Linked DNA regions of Homo sapiens: regions 1 and 3 are each linked to region 2. Evidence: promoter capture Hi-C in human tissues and cell types (Jung and others, 2019). All regions are on one chromosome and are shown on one strand. Each heading gives the region's core, a stretch centred on a gene start or on the middle of the fragment in contact. The rest is flanking DNA. Distances are from core to core; before and after follow the strand shown. Region 1 has its middle 29 kb from the start of PGM2. Region 2 holds the start of KLF3 (KLF transcription factor 3). Region 3 overlaps TBC1D1 (TBC1 domain family member 1).

The links. The method cuts DNA at HindIII sites, captures the fragments that hold promoters and counts their contacts. A contact is called where the count stands out against the background at its distance.
Region 1: a fragment that was not itself captured here is called in contact with the fragment with the promoter of KLF3 in region 2 in 1 of the 25 tissues and cell types used here (lymphoblastoid cells).
Region 3: a fragment that was not itself captured here is called in contact with the fragment with the promoter of KLF3 in region 2 in 1 of the 25 tissues and cell types used here (spleen).

Annotation. Positions count from the first base shown.
Region 1 is chr4:37,795,210-37,800,316 of GRCh38, reverse strand. No RefSeq gene overlaps it. Among named protein-coding and RNA genes, the nearest start is that of PGM2, 29 kb to the left of the region's middle. The HindIII fragment of the contact is 3,117 bases long and covers 555-3,671 here.
Region 2 is chr4:38,662,337-38,667,248 of GRCh38, reverse strand. KLF3 (KLF transcription factor 3) reads right to left here and starts at 3,050. Exons shown (of 6, transcript NM_016531.6): 1 at 2,788-3,050. It overlaps KLF3-AS1 (KLF3 antisense RNA 1), which reads left to right and starts at 2,356. Exons shown (of 16, transcript NR_171644.1): 1 at 2,356-2,455. RefSeq lists enhancers at 1-826, 4,861-4,912, silencers at 2,310-2,659, 2,720-3,319, 3,330-3,599, 3,630-4,149 and a promoter at 2,788-3,590. The HindIII fragment of the contact is 5,536 bases long and covers 1-4,912 here.
Region 3 is chr4:37,989,026-37,994,159 of GRCh38, reverse strand. The region is part of intron 2 of TBC1D1 (TBC1 domain family member 1); the gene reads right to left. Among named protein-coding and RNA genes, the nearest start is that of PTTG2, 31 kb to the right of the region's middle. RefSeq lists an enhancer at 970-1,139. The HindIII fragment of the contact is 3,258 bases long and covers 427-3,684 here.

The DNA.
Region 1 (5,107 bases), core at 864-3,363, 870 kb after region 2:
GATTGTTTATTCAGTCAAGTTTGTATCTCATGGTCTCTAGTTTGCCTGTGAATCAGAGACAAGCTATTTGTTGTTATGTTGTTTGCTGCAAGTTCTTGGGAATGAGGAGGGCAAGAGATGATGGAAGTGAGGCTTGAGAAGAATGTCTAAGAATTGAAGTGGCTCTTTGGGGGAATGGGATGAGGAGCTAAGGATTCCTGGAAGGATTGTGCCTGAGGTTATAGAGCCTGAACTTCTCAGTTGGTTCCAATCTGAAGAATGTGATTTTTTTTCCCCAGCAATGATCCAAAGTCAGGATGTGGGAACAAAGAAGGGGACACAGTCAAAAAACAAAGGCTGAAGTTTGCAGACAGGTGAAAAGAACGACAAAGGAGGGAGTGAGTTGAAGTATTGGTAGATGTGTCAGGCATTGGTTGAAGCAATAGAAATGACCCATTAATGTAAGCAGATAATGAATAGCTCATAGATCAAAGGGAAGTTTGAAGAATGAGACTTAAAAAACAGGTAGGAACCAAGAGGGATCAGACAGCCATGATTGGCATGAGCAGCCAGAACACCCTGCTGGAATGACTGTTGGAGCTGCCCAGGGGCCCCACTGGATCTGCCTTGTGTGGATGCTGGTGCTGTGAATACTTTCTAAACTCTCCAGTTGTTTCTGGTGGTCAAGAGTTGAGACCTCAGGTGGGAGCATCTAATTGGCTAAGCCTTGGTCATCTGTTCAATCTCTTCTTCCAGGAAGAAGAAGGAAGTATCTGTCCCCTTCAGCTCCCATACTAGTTGTGAATCTCCACCTCCCAACAGAATCTCATTACAGAAATTCTCCATAATTAGAAAAGGTATAATGAGGTGTGTCTGTTTCATCATGGCTGGGAAACCAGTTTCTCTGGAGTTTCCTTGGCCAAGAGGGGTACATTCAGTTGGTTGGGGTACTTAGAATTTTGTTTTTAATTTACAAGCCAAAATGAGGCTCTAAAGGAAGACTTGGGGCAATGAGGAAGAGAGTCCCTCTTTCTCTCTCTCCCTCCCTCTTTGGTAGTTGGGTCTCCTTTGTGGCTTCACCCCCTGCCCAATAGCCCGTCCCTCCTTCTGGGCATCTCCCACTAGAAAAGCCCCAGCTTTGGGACTCTGATGACACCACTTCATCCTAGTGACCTTCAATTCCTGGGGATGGTGCTGGCCTCCTGTATCTCTAATCTCTGGGTAGTCTTGCAGTTCCCTATTTGGCTTCTCAGTCCTTGTATAAATTCCTTTTATTAAATTTTCATTGTTTGAAAGACCTAGAGTGTTATCTGTTCTCCTGACTGACATGATATTGACAGCAAAAACTAAATATTGTGGAATCCACTTGATCTTCATCTCATTCTCTGGTCATCAGGTTGAGACAGAGCCTCCTGTCACCTGAGAACAATTGGGGAGTTATAATTGGAAGCAGTGTGAGTCTTGCTGTCTATCAAATCCTTTCTCTTTCCTTTTAGACACTCAGCTAGACTTGATTTCCCAATCATACAATGGATTCCTGTCTAATGGAATAAGGGTAGAATTTATGTCTGGAATTTCCACCCCTGAATCATAAAAATCTTCTTTCTCTCTCTCTTCTTTCTGCTGGCTGGACTTTAGCACTCAGGACAACATGGGAGGTACATGTTGAAGAGGTCAGAGCCTCTGTCTACCTGGGTCTTGAACTGTTGAGCTAGAGTGGACTCTTCCCACATGAACCACTACCAACTGGACTTGATATGAGTGAGAGATAAATGTTATGGTAAATCGCTGACATTTGGGGGTTTATCTGTTAATGCATCCTATGTTACCTTAGCTAACACATGATATGAGAATTTTTTTTTATTAGGGAGCATAGTGGTTAATAATGGAGATAGATGGGATTACAATCCCAGCTCTGCCACTTACTAGCTTTATGACTTTGAGCAAGTCACTAAATTCTCTCTAAGCCTCAGTTTCTTCTGCTATAAAATGGGAATAATACTATTATTCTGTGGTGGCATTGTAAGAAATTAGTAGACACACTTCTATACATAATATCTATATGCATAATTCCATACATAATTATCATATTAATACTATAGGTTTAGTTGAGAACTCAGTAACTGTTAGACATTTTTGTTACTACTCAACTAGGAGGTAGATTAGGTCTACTTTCACTGTATGCTATTTTAAGTAGGTAGTGTCTCATAACTGTAAGGTGCGTTAGTGTAAGTTAAGCAAAGTACTATTTTTAGATAAATGGAACATCATTATATAGTCAATCACATGGCCATTGAACTTTCTTCCTGGGGTTGTCATCAGATTTTTCCACTGCCATTGCTGGAAGATAACGTGATTGATTTCATGTTCTTAGAGAAACTTCAGCATGCAATTGAAAGGGTGAATAGGGACAGGACTTTATAGACCACAGCCTCACCTGACCCCCCCCCCCCCAGTTAGGACTGATTAATCCTTTCTTGCCCTCATTGTACACTTGACACTATAGGATATTTGCTTATTGCCCAGCTAACCTTGTTATGTCATCATACAGGAAATAAATGAAAGAAAGCTTAATGGAGGGGCCATGTAGAGGTCAAGGAGAACCAAGAGTGATAAAGCACTTCCAGGCTACACTGTGGGGGGCCACTGTCAGCCCTGGGCCTGGAAAAGCCAGGAACAGAAGAGCTGGTTGTAGTTCTGGAAGCAGGCTGCTTCTCAGCAGTTGTGGCTTTAGGGAAGTGCAGCCATTGTTAAGCCTTAGCAGGCATGAAGGAAGCCAGGGCAATGCTTCACTTTCCTCTTCTGCCGCCCTTCCTCTCCTGCTACCCTTCCTCTCCTCTTGTGCTTCCTAGTGGCTGAGCCCAACTGAAGCTGGAAGGCAAGGGAGCCCTGTTGATACTTTCCAGAAAAGTCAGCTTCCAGGAGCCACTGGGCAAGGTGGCGAAGGGCAGAGAATAGATCTAGAGGGGCAAAGAACATCCCACACCCAGCTCCTAAGGAACTGTGAGATTCTTACAAACAGAGTTCCTTTCTTAATGCTTTTTGTATCTTCAGCGTGCAGCAAAGAACACATAATGGATGTTAGTTGAATAAACGAATGAATGAACAAATAAATGGGGAGAACAAAAATGCTTGCACTTAAATTTTTTAAAAAATGTATAATGTCCACATATCCTTCATTTGCCCTGGAGACAGTGAAACTTCCTACTGGAAATGAGAGCTCTCACGGACTCCAGGTAGTCAGTGCTTTATGAGCCCATTGCATCCCAGGCCTCATCCATCCTTCATCACGCATTAGCAGTTGCTCTTCTCGGCTGGGGTCATTCCTTGCCAGGAGCTACCATGTCTTCCAGTGTAGATCAGCCTTTCCAGGCTATAGTGTTGTTTCTGAAGCTCTTCAAAAAGTCAAAGGGCCTCCACTGATGCCCGCTTGCCTGCCGCCCCTTATCCTAGACCTCCTTGACCTTTTCCTTGATAGCTGTTGAATTGCACTAAAACTTGCATTCCCACATTCAGGCTGATATTCCTTGTTTCTTTACTGCTGGTCCAGCACTATCCATTACTCCAGTTTTGTCAGCCAATGGATGAAAACTGTTTGCTAATAATGGCAGAAAAAGAGGGCACATAGAAATGCAATAGCTATTTCAGAACATCTCAACTCAGGGCAGGGCAGTAGCTCTCACTGGTCACACTGGGAGTACACTATGGAGTCTCTGACACTTCCCTCCTTACACAGGGTACTGTTCCGTATGATGTGTTCTTCTCCTTTTTGGCTTAGTAAAACATTTTAGAGATAAATAATGTATAATAAATAGATACCATCCCAGAGCTGTAGAAATAGGATACGTATTTACCGGCAAGAGGAAAACTTTTTTGGAAAGTTATAAAAACTCAAAGCAAATGCATAGTAGACATAGTTTTATTATGAAACGTCACTTTTTAAAAGATATAATGTTTCACATATTTTAAATCGATTTATTTGGAGACAAGTCTTTTGTCGTAGGATCAAGTATGCGTCTAAGAGGAAAATAGACGGTAGGTATATGGAAAGTGTGTTTTCTGTGGCTTTTCTGGTTGGCTTACTTGCTCTGTTTGCTCTAAAGACTATTAGGAGGAAAGTGATAACTAAGAAAACAGAAAGTTTGTTCAAAATGGTGTGGAGGAAAAAGGAAGGAAAGAAAATTTTTATCTGAAGAATGAGAGCCCCTTTAAATTATCAGGCCCCAAAAGGCACTGAATGAAACAGCAGTCACATCACTCCCCCTTGAACTAAATAATTATCTCTTGAAGCCACTTGCCATGTGGGCTCTAGACTAACTGATGCCAAGTAGCCATCAAATGCCATATGCCAGACACTATAACACTATATCCTGCAGTCCCACAGTGCATGGCCAATCATTAAGCAATGTTATTCTCTGAAAACCAGTGAGAATTCCTGTCAAAGAACTTTACATCAGACCATTCCTTGTTCCCTTTGCCTTTAGAAACCTGCTTACAACAAAAGCTAACAGAGCACTCCCCAGTGCAACTGGGAAGAGCGTCTCAACAGCTGTCTTCCCTTTGGCTCAAGTAAATTCTTTAAATTATATTTTGTGCCTCAGCCTCCTCCTTTTAGGTCAACAAGGACATCAACTAATACCTCCAGGTGTGTGCAGCTTTAGTATTCACATAAATAAGATTTTTTAAAGCCTTAATTTTTAGCAACCGTCACTAATCATTAAGCCCATTCACATTTTCTAAATCGAGTGTGTTACTGAAGGTCACAGATCAAGTTTCTTTTTGGTCATGAGTTAGTCATGTGAAATGTATCCAAGCTTACTTACAATTTTTATTGTAGGAAAGATTTTGTCATGGAAATGAGATGCTTTTCCTTCAATTCATGGTGGCCAAATTAGGACTCTGAGGACATAAAGTCATATGCTCATGTCATCTCAAATATATAAACTTATTATCTACATTTTACTCATGAATTCAATAGTCAATGGATGCCTTTTTGTTTGAGTCCTATACCTGGTGCTTCAGGATGTCATGAAAAGTGAGACATTGTCCCTGCCCAAAAGGAGCTTCTCTAGTTGGAGAGAAAATACATGTTTAATAGCTGTATGAACCAAAATGTGAGCGCCATCAC
Region 2 (4,912 bases), core at 1,801-4,300:
GCTGTGCTGGAGAGAAAGCACAGAGAAACATTTAGCCGGCCCTCCCTGACCCTATATTCATGAGCAGCTGGAGTTTTTTAAGACAACAACAGGGGGGTGGAGGTGTTTGTTCTACGGGTGTGAATAATAACACCAGCTTTATACAGGGGACCTGCCCTATTTACAAATAAGAGCTGCCACATACAGTAAACATCATAAGTGAAATGTGATTTTATCATATTCAAGCAGCAGAGACCTTCCTAATGAACACTAGCCTCCCTCCTGATTTCTTTTGTCCCTTTCTGCCCCATTCCAATGGCTAGTCCCTAGCTCAGATCAAATTCCGAGTTAGGGTAATGATTATGGTTCAGCCTCAGTGCATCAAGAGGAAAAAAGATAGAGCACTGCTGTTAGGAATTCAGATTACAATTGGGGTACCCCACAGAACCAAAATTGGAGCAACTGTAAGCCTCCTTTAGTCACAGAACTAAATTCCAAGACAGACTGTGGGACATCTACAGTAACCCAAAATTTTCACTGTCTTTTTCAAATGCAGTTATACACATCTTTGCAGAGCTGCTCATCTGTTCAACATATACACACGTTTATAGAAATTCGCCTTTTAAGAATGTGATTCTGTTCCTGACATTTATCTAAAAATTATTATGCAATCTGTACACCAGAGTACTAATTTCTAGAAGTCATTCTAAAATGTCTATTTTCCCTTTGGGTTATTTTTAAGATAGTAAAATCCATTCACAGTTCCTTTCCCATTATTTCTCTTTACTTTGTTAGCCAGGACTGTTTAACTCAAGCTTACGTTATCAGAGATTTAAGAATGTGGTGTGTGCAGACTAAGTACAGGTAAGGAAAAAAAAAAAGAAAAAAAAAGGAAAAAAAGAGCATCACTGTGCCCATAGCAACAAGAAGATTGGGTTTTAATTTAGAAACTTTGCAGTGAATAAAACAATAGCTTTCTGCAAAACTCTGTTGTCGTTTTGTACCTGACAAGGTTTTGTGGTCTAAGCAGTTACTTTTCTTTGTTATTCCCATGTTGAGATTTTTGTACTTGCATTCCCTTTCATGCAAGCTAAATGTTCTTTACAATGTATCATCATTGAACTTACCGATAGTACATTAGGTTTTTTTCTTCTAATAAATAGTTCTGCAGCAAAGCCCACTGACTGCAGAAATGAAGATACCAGTTTCTCTAGGGAGTTTAATTTAATCGAACATCTAATTTCAGGTTTCTATTAACAGCCTAAGGTCAACTAACATACCTCTTTTCAAACCAGAAGAAATCACTCGTGGACACTTTCCTTAAACACTATTACTAACTCCAAAAAATTTGTAGATATTAATGCTAGCAGATTGTTTTTTCCCCTAAAAGCAAGTCTTCTTCCCTAGGGTGAGGCAGATCATCCAGATGAATTTCTCTTATAAAAATGCTCCTCAAATTCGTACAGAAAAGGATAGCACAAAACTGCTGTGTGGAAAAACCTATAATGAACAACTGGCCTATTCCCCACTTGATTTTGCTGGCACATTTCAGGTACTTGTCAGAATACCACTTCATACTTTTTCCCATATACCAGACTCTTGTGAGAATATAATCAATATATTTAAAATGTCTTGGGTGATATTAATGGAAACATAAATTCTGAGTAAGAAATTCAGTGGTTAAGTGTAAAATGTTTATTTTAGTGAAATACAAGAAGGTGAGCAATTTCCAATTTCCGTTTAACTTGACTTATTAAAAATAAGTCTCATTCACATTCTTCTAGTATTATTGTATACTGCTATAAAATTTAAACCAGAAAAGTGCTTCTCCTTGTCAGTAGCTATCTGCCCAAAAAAATGAATATGACAATTCCAGATCTCATCTGCCATCTCTAAGAAAGCCACTTGGAAATGTTAGGTAGGTCCCATGGGTCCTGATCCAGGGATCTGTCCCTGGGTCCCCATCAGGCTCGGCTGCAGGCAGTTGCCTAAGGCGTCTTCCGCCTTCAGCCACGCTGCAATCCTTGCTCCAGGCACTGCGGCAGGTTCTCTCCATGCCCCCAGGAAGACTCTCCAAACCCGACCAGCTCATTTCTCCTGCCCCGGAGGATCCAGACGCCCTGGCAGCTCCTGGGCTCCAGAACCGAGAATGGGATGCTGCCTCCAATCCCAATTGCCCTAAGTTTCTTTCCAGAGGGCCGGGAGACTGCTCCAAGTTTGCTGTGGCGGGCGAGCGGCCGCGCGCCGTGTCCTGGGAGGGGGGCGGCGGGGGGCGCGGGCGGAGGGAGGGGAGGGGAAGGACGCGGGAGCCTGGGTTGTGGTGGTGGTGGGGGGGCACCGGGAGGGGGAGGAGCAGGAGCGCGCGGCCGCGGCGCTACCTTTCTCCAAACAACGTTGCCACACGCGGAGAGCACGGAGATTTCTGGGGCTTTGGAGGGAATCGTGAGCGGGCGGGAGGAGGCCGGGGACCACACAGGTGAGCCCCCGCCCGCGCCCTGCCCGGGACGGCGGCGGGCGCTGCCAGCCCCGCTCCCCCGCACCCGGGGTCCGCACGGTGCCTCGCCTCAACCCCTCACTTTTCACCGCGAACCCGTGACCCCCTCCTCCTTGCTTGCTCTCCGCCCCCACCCCGGCTAAGTGTAGCCGCCACACTTTCCCAAGCCCGCAGGCGCCCCCCCCAACACCAGCGCTGCACCCCCGACCCATTCCCCGCGGCCCCCTCCAGGAGAAAAAATGAAACCAGACTGGCCGAGGAGGGGGGCGGCAGGGACCAGGGTGCGGAGCAGAGGTGAGGGAGACGGGACTTACTTTGCGAGGCGCGGTGCAGGGCGCCGCCGACGAGAAATAAAGGCCCCGATACGGGCTGCCTGGAGCCCCCCGAGCGCAGCAATGTCAGGGCTCCAGTCCGGGCGGCGTTGGCGGCCGCAGGGGACGGGGACGGGCGCGCGTGCGGCGGGCGCTCTCGCTGCGCTCCGGCTCGGGCCCCGGCTCCGCGCGGCTCCGCTCCTGGCTCCCCTCTGGCTCCTGGCACCAACTCCGGGCAGTCACATGACGCCGGCGCCGCTCGCTCTGCGAGCCTCCCGGGGCTGGCGGGGTAAGTAGAGGCTGGGACCCGGGGTGGGAGGGTCAGGGAGGGGAGAGGGAGCCGCCGCGGCCGCCCGGGCTGGGCGGGTCCCCACCCACTTGGGTGGAGGCAGCCGCCGGAGGGGTCGGCCGAGTCACTCGCGCAAACACGCACCCCGCCCTGCGCCCTTCCCCCGCCACCCCCGCCTCCCGCGCCGCCTCCGCCCCGCCCCGCCCAGTCACCCGGGGACGGCCTGACAGACACTCATTATTCCCCGGAGCCGGGCGCCGCCCCGCCGGCCCAACCTGTCCCACGAGGCGCGGCGCGGCCGTGGGGCTGGGCGTGCGCGGCGCGGCCTCCGCCCCCCGCCCGCGTCCCCGCCCGCGTCCCCTCCCCGCGCCCTCCTCCCCGGAGTCCGCGCCCCGCCAGCCCTCCCGCCCGGCCCAGCCGCCGCGCCGCCGCCCGAGCCCGGGGGGAAGGAAGGGCGGCGCTGCCCGCTCCGGGCGTCACACGGCTGCGGCCCGCTGCGCTGCTTCCAAAACACACAGCCGGGCTCGCGGGCGAGCCGAGGCGGGGGGCGCGGGCTGCCAGGGCCATCGATCAGCCGGCTCCAGCGGGAAGGGCGGCCCCGGGCGCGGCGGGAAGGGCTGGGCCCCGCGGCCGGCGCGGCGCGGCGCGGCCCCTCCTCGGCTGAGCGCACTCAGCTCACTGCAAGAGAAAAGCCGAGCCGAGGCGGCCGCGGTGCAGGAGCGAGTGGGCCGGGCGGGTTCGGGAGGGGAAGAGCGGCCGCTGGGGCGCGCCGAGCCTCCCTGGCCCCGAGTCGCCGGGGTCAGGGGACACCCTGTAGGCGCGCTCTTTCTTTGTGCCCTGGGGCGACGGGTCCCCCTGGCCGGCGGCCCAGGCGGCGCCCCCCACCTCGTGGGACTTTTCTTTGAAGGCCCGGAGACCCCTGGGGCAAAACTCCCACGGGCCAGGCCTGCCGCTGGAGCTAAAAAGCGGCATTTGCGCAGTTGGGCTTGCCTGGAAACTTGGCAAACTTTGGTCGGATCCTCCCCTGCAGAGCGAGGGCCTGGCCTGGCGACCCCCTCATTTCAAGTCGCTTCTAGGGACCTAGCGCCCTAAGCTCAGTGGCCTTCAGGGTGCTGCGAGCGAGCGGGGCGGCACAAAAGCGCGTTCGGTCCAAGCCAGGCCCCTTCGAGGACTTTGTGTAGATTGGTACCTAAGTTTAATGCCTTTTGAGTTTCTTTTTAAACAGTATTAATGTAATAATTAATGTAATAAAAAGAACAAAGGACGAATTCGTTCGATTGTTTTAAGTTCTGTGTAATGTTTAAAACCGCCCCTGCTTCAGTGTATGGCTTATTATTGCTTCAAGATGTTTTAAAGGCCCTTTAAGTTGACCCATCTCGCTTTGATGCTTCATCCAGACATCGTGCTGCTTAAAACGGAGTGATAATAGTATATTTCGAGCCGCTTCATGTAGCTACACAGTATTGTAAAATTAGTACTCGGTAACCTCAAGTAGTGAAATCGCATATTTTAAATAACGCAAGTCCAGGAAAGGCCACGTGGAGGATACCCAGAACCGACGCCGGCTCATGGGACGTCGTGCTGTCCCATAAGCTTCATCTTTAAAATGTAAAGGGTGTGAGTTTTTTTTTTCTTCATAATGAATAAAAGACATTCCAGAAAAAAAAAGAGTTGGATTCGTGTCAATTACTAATTGCCATTTATTGATCACTGACATCATTAAATGGCTGATTGGCTGCCTTAAGGTTTGCATTAGCGGAACACCGTGCTAGGAATGGCTGGTGAAACTGGCTCATAGTAGGTGCTCAAAAAAGTACGTTTTTTTCTCCAGGGACACAG
Region 3 (5,134 bases), core at 806-3,305, 670 kb after region 2:
TTTAGGGCTTTATTTAATAAAGACAGGCGATGAGAGCCTGCCTCCACCTTCCAGGACCTCCTGAGCAGGTTCCCTCCAGGCAGGATTTGAAATCGGTTTTTACTCCCCCTTCAGGCCTCTCAACTTCTGGGAAGTGCTGACTTCATTTTCACGAGATCAGATATTTTACAATCAGGGAATTTCTGGAGAACCAACACCAAAACCAAGGCTGACAGGAGATAAAGACTGGCTTCGCCAGCCAAGAGCTGATGCTGGGAATGTGCTCAAAGCTTTGTTGTGGCCGGGCGCGGTGGCTCACGCCCTTAATGCCAGCACTTTGGGAGGTCAAGGTGGGTGGATCACTTGAGGTCCGGAGTTCGAGACCAGCCTGGCCAACATGGTGAAACCCCGTCTCTACTAAAAATACAAAAATTAGCTGGGTACGGTGGCGGGCGCCTGTAATCCCAGCTACTTGGGAGGCTGAGGCAGGAGAATTGCTTGAACCCGGGAGGCGGAGGTTGCAGTGAGTTGAGATTGCGCCACTGCATTCCAGCCTGGGCAACAGAGCGAGACTGCATCTCAAAAATAAATAAATAAATAAAGCTTTGTTGTTTGCCCCATGCCAAGGGAGTGCTACTGTATGTTGAGGGGCTTCAGTGACTTGCTGGAACTGAACTTTGATCCACTCACCACAATGCAGGAACAAGAACTCCATCTACCAAGTGGGAATTGTAGTCTCTGAATCCTAATGACATTTTCAAAAGCAAGGCTTCATCTTGATTTAGTTACAAGAGGAAAAAAATAAAGATCAGCCTTAAGGGGAGGCGCAGGGTAATGAAATCTTACTAATGTAATTCTCTCCTTTAGAATGTATTTAGTAAAATCTTTCATTTCACAGACATCTTAAAAAAGATTCTTCATAGTGTTCTGATTCTCTCTCTCTGTCTCTCCCTCTCTCTCAGGATGGCATCTACTCCCCAAAAACTAAGAAAGATGGTTTCTTTCTCTACATTTCCAGCTCTGAATTCTTTCCTAAACTTCGCTAACATTTCCAATCACCTATTTAAAGAATCACCAGGCCGGGCGCGGTGGCTCACGCCTGTAATCCCAACATTTTGGGAGGCTGAGGCAGGCGGATCACCTGAGGTCAGGAGTTCGAGACCGTCCTGGCTAACATGGTGAAACCCCATCTCTACTAAAAATACAAAATTAGCTGGGCATGATGACACACGCCTGTAATCCTGGCTACTCGGGAGGCCAAGGCAGGAGAATCACTTGAACCCAGGAGGCGGAGGTTGCAGTGAGCTGAGATCGCGCCACTGCACTCCAGCCTAGGGGACAGAGTGAGACTCTGTCTCCAAAAAAAGAAAAAAAAAAAAAAAAGAATCGGCCAGGCATGGTGGCTCACACCTGTAATCCCAGCACTTTGGGAGGCCGAGGCGGGCAGATCACGAGGTCAGGAGATCAAGACCATCTGGCTAACACGGTGAAACCCCATCTCTACTAAAAATACAAAAAACTAGCCGGGCGTGGTGACAGGCACCTGTAGTCCCAGCTACTCGGGAGGCTGAGGCAGGAGAATGGCGTGAACCCGGGAGGCGGAGCTTGCAGTGAGCCAAGATCGCGCCACTGCACTCCAGCCTGGGTGATAGAGCGAGACTCCGTCTCAAAAAAAAAAAAAAAAAAACACCAGACTTCTAGTCCTTGACCTTAAAATATCCACATCAAGCTCATTCTCTTTTCCTTAAAATAGGCCTTTCTTCCTACTTCCTTGTTTCCCAAATGCCTTCTAGGTAACTGGGCTCAAAACCTGGTAAGTGGCTTCTGCTCTTCTTTCTCCTTACTCCTTCTTTCCCTCAGCTCTTTGGGTGTATATTCTCTCACCACGAGCCCAAAACCTCAAGCGCTGGTCCGGGCCTACACTTGCTTCAGCCAGACCCCAGCAAGACCTCTCCTCTGCCGCCTCTGGCATCTCCCTACATCCATCCTGCTATCCAGCACAGCCTGATCTTCTGGAAACACAGGTCTGATGGGGTCAGCCTCCTGCTCACAAACCTTCTAGGGCTCCTCTGCAATCCCTACCAGAACAAACACAGTCCTGCTAACCCTCAGGGTCTCCCACCAATGGGGCTCCACTCAACTCTTCCTGCCTTATTTCACCTGGCTTCTTTCTCTGTAAGTTCCGTTTGTACCAAACATGTTTCGAACACACCTCCTAAGCCTCTGTTCATTTGGGTTTCCACCTCCATACCTTTGCTCATGCAGTTTCTTCCACCTGGAATATTCTTTGTCACCCCCTGGATGGGACCTTTGAATCACTCACTCACCTTATTCACTTTCGGGATGAAATGCAGCCACAGGAGGCTGGAATGGCTGGCATCTGGTCACAGAGCCAGGCTAGACACAACTAGACCTCCCCAGTAAGGACTGGTTTTTTAGGCAACACTGGGTCCCTATGATTTGCTTTTATTTGGGATAAAATCGTCCAGTGTAAAATTTCCTTATTAGGCTAAAACCTCTAAGCCCACTAAATTTAAAAAAAAAAAAGAGAGAGAAGAGCTGCCAGTGCCCACATTTCCAGGGACTTGCAGGAATTCTCTGAAACTCACAAGCCTTACCAGGTCTGCATGCTCGTGTTCAGCAGCAGGTGCTAAGTGACTGTAAAGGGCTGTGGTGCCCACCCTGGGGTCTTCATGCAGGGCTTGAGGGTAGAGTCACCCTCTGCCCCATAGTGACAGGCCAGCTGGGCTCCACTGCCTCCATCTACTCAGTCAGGATTAGCACAAAAACTTGTTAGAGAGGTTTAAAGAGCCCCCAGATCAGCGGAGAGGTACTCCAGGACACTGTGGACTGTTCTTAACACCCACACCCAAGCCAAATCTCTGGCACCCAGAATAAAAATGATGTTTTTGAGAAGGACAATATCTAAGTTAACAGTGTATAGTCAGTTCTACTTATCCCTGATCAAAATTAACCGTGAGGTTGTAAAGTGGGATTTACTACATTTGGGAAATTATTACCTCTGTATACCAAGGGGCTACTCAGAGGTTTACAGTTCCCCACCTGCTTTCTGGCAGGCTGACTCTGTGACTGCCTTCACCACCTTCCCCCCACCCACCCCCGCCCCAGGTCAGCAGCTGGGTCTCTCTCATCTTGGCAGTTGTGTCTCAAGTGCCTGCCACAGAGTAGAGGCAAAAGAAATAGATTGTGATCAACACTGAGCTTGAAGCGGCCAGATTTCTTGACCAAGAACGTCTGGAAACACCACACTACTCCCCCAAATAGTGTAGTTATTGCAAAACAAATACAGAGTTGTGTGGTCTGGTGGTCTAGTACATCCAGCTCTTTCCTTGGGGAAAAATATCCAGAGACCACATTCTCAGCTGATTAACACACTAGAGAATTGACAAAAATCAAACTTTGGTACGATGTTCTTTCAGTTACACCAAAACTGGATGGCACAGACTTGAAGGGCTGCTTTTACTGAAACACTAGTGTGATAAAAATCCCTATGTATTATATTCACATATTTCTGGAAATGGAAGGAGAATCCCTTCCCTTCACCTGGAAATTCAGGAATACAGCTTTTTCTGGAACCGTAAGAAGGCTTTGGCCTTAGATGTACTAGCAATATTTCATGCTTATTATACAATTAATTGATTAATAATCAGTACACAAGGGGCCACAAACTCCTTACTCATAAGCGGGCTTTTGGTTGTGTTTCTGAAGTCAAATTTTACAAGTTCTAATACAGGGGTATCCAATCTTTTGGCTTCCCTGGGCCACACTGGAAGAATTGTCTTGGCCCACACATAAAATACATTAACACTAATGATAGTTGATTAGCTTAAAAAAAAAAAACTCAATGTTTTAAGAAAGTTGATGAATCTTTTTTGGGCCACATTCAAAACCATCCTGGCCTGTATGTAGCCCACAGGCCGTGGACTGGACACTTGCTCTAACATTTTAAACTTGGAAACTTACATATTTCTTTTAAAAGCCTAACACAATAGAGACTGTCACAATAGACCAGTGTAAATGTCCCTAAGCAAATAACGTCTCAAAAATCTGACAGTTTATTTCCACCTAATGACTGGTTTCCTTTGGGCCCACCCTTTAAAAAGAACTTCCGCAAAATACCACTTGGCTAATTCTCTGCCTTGGGCAGTCCTACAATTATAAATTCTGCTAAACAAATAAACTTCCTTCCTATTTTTAAAGTATTCCAAAATTGGAAACTCTGTGTCTTTGGTTGGCAAACTATTTTCTGGAGTCTAACAGCCTTAGCCATGAAGAAATTCTTCATTGCACTCTGAGAGACGAAAAAAACCAGAAACTGTCAAGGAGTCCCTCCCTACACCTATTTCAGGGAAGGGGAACTAACCCCACAGAGTTGTGACCTTGGGCAAGGTCACACAGGCTGCTGGTGGCAGAAGCCAATGTCCTCCTCTCTCCCCCATTTTCCCCTTAACTGATCTAAGTTACTTGTGGCCTAAAGAAAGCAGTTTGCTCTTGTTCTGTACTAGGGAACAGGGTTTATGTTTAATTCATGCAGAATGTGCTAGAACAACAGAAAGAATCTAAATATTAGTGTCAGCAAAAAGAATCAATCTCCGTAAAACATTTAAAGAGATTTATTCTGAGCCAGATGTGAGGACCACGACCCATGACACAACCCCAGGAGGTCCTGAGAACACGTGCTCAAGGTGGTCGGGGCTATAGCTTGCTTTATACATTTTAGGGAGACATAAGACATCAATCAATATATGTAAGGTGTACATTGGTTTGGTCTGGAAAGGTGGGACAACTTGAAGGTGGAGGGGAGGTTGCAAGTCATAGGTGGATTCAAATATTTTCTGAGTGGCAATTAGTTGAAAGCGTTATTATCTAAAGATCTGGAATCAATAGAAATAAGTGTGTAGGTTAAGACAAGGTCATAACCTGGGTGAAGACCAAGGTTTTTATCATGCAGATGAGGCCTCCAGGTAGCAGGCTTCAGAGATCTTATCAGACCTAACAAAAAATGTGCCAGACTCTTAGTTAATTCTCTCCTGGTTCAAGGAAAAGATCTGGAAAGTGAAGAGGATTCTTTAGAGAAAGTAGATTTTCCCCATAAGAGACAGCTTTCCAGGGCCATTTCAAAATATGCCAAAGA